2 separate regions of the Homo sapiens genome follow, and region 2 is linked to region 1. The links are contacts of gene promoters, found by promoter capture Hi-C in human tissues and cell types (Jung and others, 2019). All regions are on one chromosome and are shown on one strand. Each heading gives the region's core, a stretch centred on a gene start or on the middle of the fragment in contact. The rest is flanking DNA. Distances are from core to core; before and after follow the strand shown.

What was found. The method cuts DNA at HindIII sites, captures the fragments that hold promoters and counts their contacts. A contact is called where the count stands out against the background at its distance.
Region 2: a contact is called between a fragment that was not itself captured here and the fragment with the promoter of BEGAIN in region 1, in 3 of the 25 tissues and cell types used here (mesendoderm cells, small bowel and spleen).

Annotation. Positions count from the first base shown.
Region 1 is chr14:100,585,964-100,589,262 of GRCh38, reverse strand. It overlaps BEGAIN (brain enriched guanylate kinase associated), which reads left to right and starts at 1,846. Exons shown (of 7, transcript NM_001385089.1): 1 at 1,846-2,014. The coding sequence starts at 1,973. The HindIII fragment of the contact is 7,942 bases long and covers 1-3,299 here.
Region 2 is chr14:100,653,100-100,656,459 of GRCh38, reverse strand. No RefSeq gene overlaps it. Among named protein-coding and RNA genes, the nearest start is that of LINC00523, 2.5 kb to the left of the region's middle. The HindIII fragment of the contact is 5,505 bases long and covers 1-3,360 here.

The DNA.
Region 1 (3,299 bases), core at 597-3,096:
GGCGGGCGGTGAACATTCTGGCACCATCTGAGCAGGACCAGCCTCTGGGGAAGGGCCGCAGCCCAGGAGGAGGCAATGTGGGCAGAGCCCTGCCTGTACCCCAGGTTCCACATCCCCCATTGGTGTTTGTCCCCTTAGGGACTGGGGAGGGAAGGGACACTGGAGCTGGCAGGCTGGGCCTCACTACCTCTCACAGGATGCCTCCACTGCTGTGTGCTGCCTGAATGGTGTCTGAACCTGAGAGGCCAGAGTGGAGGTCAGGGAGCCTGTCCCTACTCCTGCTGGGGAGACTAAGGCCCCCTTGAGCAAAGAGGCTGGTCCCGTGGTGCACACCAGCGACGGTTTGGGCGAAGTCTGTCCACGCTTCGCCCAAACTGGGAGAGCCCCGCCCTGAGCTGCCGCCTCTCATTTTGTCTTGACTGTGGTGGGGTGCACTTGGAGGCGCCTCCCTCTGTCCATTGGTTACCCAATCATGTCCCTGGGACCTGAGAGGGAGCAGAGACAGGACTTTGCTTGACACGAAGTGGCTCCAGTCAGCTGCTGGTTCTTTTGCTTGTCTCCTTTTTTTCTGGGTTTCCCCTCTTGCCTTGCTATCAGTGCCTTTTCTCAGCACTGACACTGCCTGAATGTAGCAACCTACTCCCCAGATTAAATGAGAGAGCGTAGAAACTGCAAAGCATACAACATACAGCATATAAGGATGGTGGTGATGGCAGCTCAACAGTGGGAACTCAGTGTCCCCAAACTGTACACTTTAAAAGTGGTTAAAATGGTAAATTTTATGTTTTCCATGTTTTCCACAATTAAAAAACAAAAATATACAAGGTACTCATTCGCAGCATCTTCTAATCTGCCATGTACTTGGAAATGATATAAGCATGTGTGAACCATGAGCCCATAGGTCCCGAGGGAGGATATGAGCGAAGCACACGGGCTTTGCCAGCTCTGTTTCCACCACGCAGGACCCTCCCTGGCTGCCAGTGCTCCTCCCCGGGTTCCCACGCTGGCTGCTGCTGGGCTGGCTGGGATGGAAGACCCTCATGTAGCTGGCACCCTCAGGGCTGCCCCTTGCCCGCTCTGGGAGGAGAGAGGAGGGTTCACGCTGCACCTTTACCAGGGTAGGACTGGCCAGCCTGGGCTCTACCGGGCAGGTCGGTGGGATGCTTCAGACTGGAGGGATAGGCAGGGGGCAACACTGGTCCTCCTGAAGCCACCTTCCCTTCCTGAGAGCTCCTTGGGGAGAAGGCAAGCCCTGGAAGCCACCGACTGGGGGCTCGGGCAGAGCAAGGGCAGGGTAAGGGGCAGCTTGGCCAGGAGGCACCCTTGGGAGCCAGGGTTTCCTCATCTGTAAAATGTGACTCTGCGAGGGCAGGAGCTTGGTTTCACTCGCTACTGTACCCCCTGGGGCCTACAGCAGGGCTGGTTGGTACACACTAGGTGTCTAATAAATGTTGAGGGATTGAATGGATGGACCGATGAAAAGGTTGGGCAGGTCATTACTGACAGCCTCTGGGTTTCAAGGGCCCATTCACTCTGTCACTCACCTTCGCGCCCGTGCATTAGTTCTCTCATTTATTCATTCCCCCCGCCCCCCCAGCCCCGCATGCTCTACCGCACTCATTCATTCACGCGCTCAGCCATTCAAGCTGGCGCGGGTTCATTCATTCCCTGCCCCTCTGCCATTCCTCGCCTGGCCCCCGCGCACGCCGCACCCCCGCGCCCCTGCCCGGCCCTGCGCCCACCACTTGCGCCCCGGCCGGGCGCTGCCGGGAGGACGCGCGGGCTCAGCCGCGGCTGCGCGGGGCCGGGGCTGGCGGGGAGCCGGGCTGGGGGCGGGGGGCGGGCGCTCCCTGCGGGAAGCCGGGCGGGGTGGGGGAGCCCCGGCCGCGCCGGCTCCCGGCGCGCTCGGCCTCGGAGGGGAGGGGGCGGCGGTAGCGGCGGCGGCGGTGAGCGGCGCGGCTGCCCTGGGGCCATGTGGACTGGCGGTCGCCGGCCGGGCCGGCTGCGCCGGGCGGTGAGTACCTGCGAGCCGGGAGGGCAGGGCGCGGGCGCGGGCGCGGAGGCGGGGCGGGCGCCACCCACGCCTGGGGCGGTCCCTGCTCAGCGCGGGAGGTGGCCGGCCCCCCGCCCCGCTCCCCTCCGCGCTGCGCCCCCGCCGTGGAGGCTTCACTGGCCCGGGAGGAGCCGGGCCGGGTCTCCTGGGAACTGGGCACTCTCGGGTGGGGCGGGGATGCCCAGCCTCCGCGCGCCGCCGGGAGCGCCCGGGTCCTATCGCGGGGTCCTTGCGCCCTGACACGCGCGCCCCTGCGGCGGAAGGAAAGGAGGGACGGGTGACCAAGGGCGCGGCCGGAGGACTGGGGACCCGCCGCTGTCCCGGGCGGGTGGCGAGGGTGCGGGCAGGCCTGGACCCGCCTGCGTCTGGGGGCAGGGCCAGCCCCTGCTTGGGAGGCCGGAGAAAGGCCCGGGAGCCGGAAGGAGGCTGGACCCGGGGCCGCCTCATTGAGCGTTTGCAGCGCGTGGGCGCGCACGAACCTCGGACACCACCATCCCATTCAGTACCTCGCGGCAGGTACTATCCTCCTGCCCCTTTACAGGCGAGGAAACTGAGGCTCAGGGAGGCCAGGGCCTCGCCCAGAGCGGCTCAGCCGGCGCGCTCACCCTCCCTGAGCCCCAGCACGTTGGATGGGAATTTCTGCCCCAGCGTTTCCGCTTCCTGCTTGGTTTAGAGGTGTTTCCTTCCTCGTCTGTGCCCCACCCCATCCCCAATGTGGTTTCCTCAGGGCAGGAACAGCGTGGGCGACGCGCTGGAGTCTCCTGAGCCGGCAGAATGGGAGCAGAGTGGGCACCCGGGAGCGGGGCCGGATGGATAGGGAGCACTGCACGTGCAAAGTCCGCATGGCCAAGGTCGGCCGCCAGTGCAGACTGGGGGTCCAGGCCCTGGGGGTATGGGTGGGGCGGGGTCTCCACAGCCAGGCTCCGTCGGAGGCCCCAGTGCTCTGGCTCTCTGGAGGCCATGGACAGGTTCTTTTCCTTCTCTGGACCCTAGTTCCTCTGCCTGCCAAGAGCAGCAGAGACCCCCACTACTCCCAGGGCCAGGCTCCCACGAGGACTGTGGGCAGAAGCCCCTAACAAACTGCGGTGTGCAGCCCTGCCAGGCTGGCCTTGGTCTTGCCAGCAGGGGCAACTGGCCGTTGGGGGTGGCTCTGCCTGGCATCTGTGACACGCAGGGCGGGGAGACGGCAGAGAGGGCCCCAGCAGCATCCTGCAAACCCTTAATTTTCCCGACTCTCACTATAATC
Region 2 (3,360 bases), core at 165-2,664, 68 kb before region 1:
TTCCTCTGGGCAGCTGCTGTCCTCCAAGACTCCAGCTGGGGAAGAGAACAGCCCCATCTTCTTTCTCCACCTCTCAGCCGTGAGCTGGCTGTTCACAAATCACTCACTCTTCATTCTCACAGCAACCCTCACCAAAGCCCCGTGTCACAGATGAGGAAACTGAGGCTCCACAGCAGGAACCCGCTTTCCCAAGGCCCCATCTGTCTCCCGGTGAGCTCCTTCCCAGTGACATAGCACATGCTCTGTCTGTGCAAGTCCTGAAGCCACCACCTGTTTTACCTGACTGGAGGCTATCCTGCAGCAGGACACAGAGGGCTGGGCTGGGCTGCCTGATTCCGTTTCTGTGCTTCTGTCTCCTCTTTGCCCAGTGCTGCCAGCCAACATCCAGCTGCCCAGGGAAACTGCAGCCCCAGCAAGATGGGCCACCCTGGGCCACCCCCTGAACTTCCAGAGCCATCGGCTCTGCCCATCTGTGCCCATCTGTCTCACCTGTAACCCTAATGGCAGCCTCTGTTCAGGACCACCAGCAGGAGCCAGGCCTCCCCACACCTCACAGTGCCACCTCTCCAAACCCATCCCTGCCATCTGGAGCCCAGGGGACAGTCGGAAGCCTGCTGAGGGAGGAGGTCAGGAGATGGAGGCTAAAGGGGAGAGCACCAGAGTGAGGAGGGGCTCCAGAAGCTAGGCTGAGGGCAGACCCTGCTGCCCCCCAAAAAGTCACCATCCAGTGGGGTCATTATTTTTCAATCGGGGAGGCTTTGTACATGTATTTCTTAAAAATGAGGAGGGAAGGACGTCTGCAGGAGCGTTTCCTGTGTTGGAGTCACCAGCAGCTCACGCCTCATTGCTCCCGTCTCCTCCAGCTGTAATTAAGCCAGAGACACCAGGCACTGCTGCCTGCCCAGCTCCAGTCCCAGCACAATAATCAGCCCTCAGTTAAATGAGGAGGATAAATACAGGCAGACCGGGACTCCAAGGACAACAGCCCCCGGTTACCGTCCTCCACAGACCCGGACCACCACCCAGCTGCCTTGGTCGCTGAGCAGTCAGAGGATGGACAGAACATGCAGGGCCTCCTTGGTGGGAAGCCACGGACAGGGGGGGCCCCCCACGCAGGGCCTCAGTTTTCTCATCTGTAATATGGGGGAGCAGACAAGTCCCCCACGTTACCCTCTGCAGGCCTCGCTGTGGTCCTCTCCACTTTAGCCGTCACCTCTTGGCCTCCTGAGTCAGACCTGCAGAGGCAGGCCCGGGAATCTGCACTTCCCGAGATGCCCCAGGGAGCCCCTCCGTGGAACCACGTGTGCCAACGCCTGGGAGGAGGGCAGGTGGCCAGAGGATCCTGGGGTCCCTCTCCCAGCCCAACCCCACCCCCAGGCCCTGTGGCTGCTCCCCCTCTGCAAAGGCACCAGGAGGGAGGTCAGGCCCTGGCGGAGCCAGCCACGCAGGTCAGTGCCCCGGGCAAGTGGGTGCTGCGGTGGCCTCGGGCCACAAGGGGGCAGAGGCGGCCAGCGAGGCCGCAACCTTCGCTCAGGTGAGCCGGGTCCGCTGCGCTGCGCTGCGCGCCGGGGTCCTGCACCCACGCTCTTCGCCGCAGAGGAGACCCCGGGGGGCAGGGTCGGGCGGGGGCCTCTCCGTGTGGCCTGGGTGGTCCTCGGGTCCTCAGCCCCTGCCCCCGCCTCTTCTGGAAAGCTCCTCACAACGCTGCCCGGCCCTGCTGCCTCCCAGCCCCGACACAGGAATCCCATCTCACTCCAGCGCCCGCCCTCCCCTTCCACGGTGCAGGCGGCTTCATCCCTGCTGAGTCTAATTCCACCCTCATTCGCCCCATTTCACAGAAGGAGTAAACTGAGGCCGAGAGAGGGCAGGGGCTGGAGCCAAGGCCCTCCCTTCTGGAGCAGCAATCCTAGAATTGGGAAACTTTGCCTTTTGTTATGGTAAGAAATGCTGTTGAGAATTTCTTAATTCCCCTTTGGAAAAGACAGGTTGTGCTGTGTGCAGAAATCGTTATTCAAAAATTACAGACTCTAGTTGTTTCTATGGAAACATTTTTTCACCTTATGCAAATGAAGCAAGAGGCATGAAAACAACGCCTTCCCTTTCTGCCCCCCTCCACCAACTTTCTTTTTGGAACCTTGAAAAGCTGCTGCTGAAAGTTTCGTCCTCTGTAGGGGTGCTGAAGGCGGCCTCTGACACTGGGGAGAGTTTGCTTCATTAACTCGGGGACCTTTGTGACCCTGGGCCGAGCCGAGACTCAGGGTTCCCCGGCCAATTACTCTGAGGCCCAGCTCCATTTACTCCCACTCTGATCATTACAGAGTGGTGGGTGGCAAATGTCACTCCAGAGTGTCTCCCCTGCCCCCTTGAAGGGGAACCCCTGCTTCCCACCACGATTCCTTCAGGAAGCCCCACAGCAGGAGGGAAACCCCCCACCGCTCAGAGCACCCATCGTTTACCCAGCCTGGACTGGCATTCTTTTGAGGAGCCAACCTCTGCACCCACTCCTGCACTCATCTCTGCCTCCACGGGGGCTCCCAGAGCCAAGGGACAGGAATGTTGGGCATATCTTTCCTCTGGTTTTGATTCAAGCCCCCACATTGGTGCCTTCCAACTATGTGGCCTTGGACAAGTCTCTGCCTCTCTGAGCCTCGTTTTCTCCGCTGTCGCCTCCACCCTGCTTAGTTGGGGGTGATAGCACCCACCTTGCAAGGTTGCAGGGAGGGTGACATGGAACGACCATCTTCGCTACTTAGCGCACAGTAGGGATTAAATGTGTAGGAATTCCCCAAGTTGCTCCTAGAGGAGCGGGGAGCCAGGGTGAGAAGAGGCTCGCTGGTGTGTGTGCTGCGTGGGATGTGGCCGCCCCCGGGGAAATTTGCTCGAAGCCACCCGAGAACTCCATCCCCAGCTGTTTGTGGCCAGGGCGGCCACCAGGAGGCAGTGTCTCCCAGCAGCCAGAGCGCCAAATTTGTAGCCCAGAGACCTGGGTTCAAGCTCCGACTCAGAGGTGTCTTCACTGGGTGATCTTGGAGACTATTTCCCCTCCCCAAGCCTCCATTTTCTCATCCACAGGGAGCCACATCATCTGCACGCCCCACAGGCTGCGTGGGGACCACAGCTAAAGGCTGTGGGAAGTGGGCAGATGTACCCTGACTGACATAAAATTGGTACCAAGAGTGGTTCCAGGTGATGGATGGGATGTGGGGATTGGTTTGGTCATGCCTTTGGGCTTGAACACAAAGCTGAGCTCCTTGCCAATGGGAAACGGGATGTTAGTGACCCCCATATGCAGCAGCATTGCCATTAATCAACTATCATCTGCCATTGATTGCGATGAAGTGGCTCCTAAGGAACCCACGT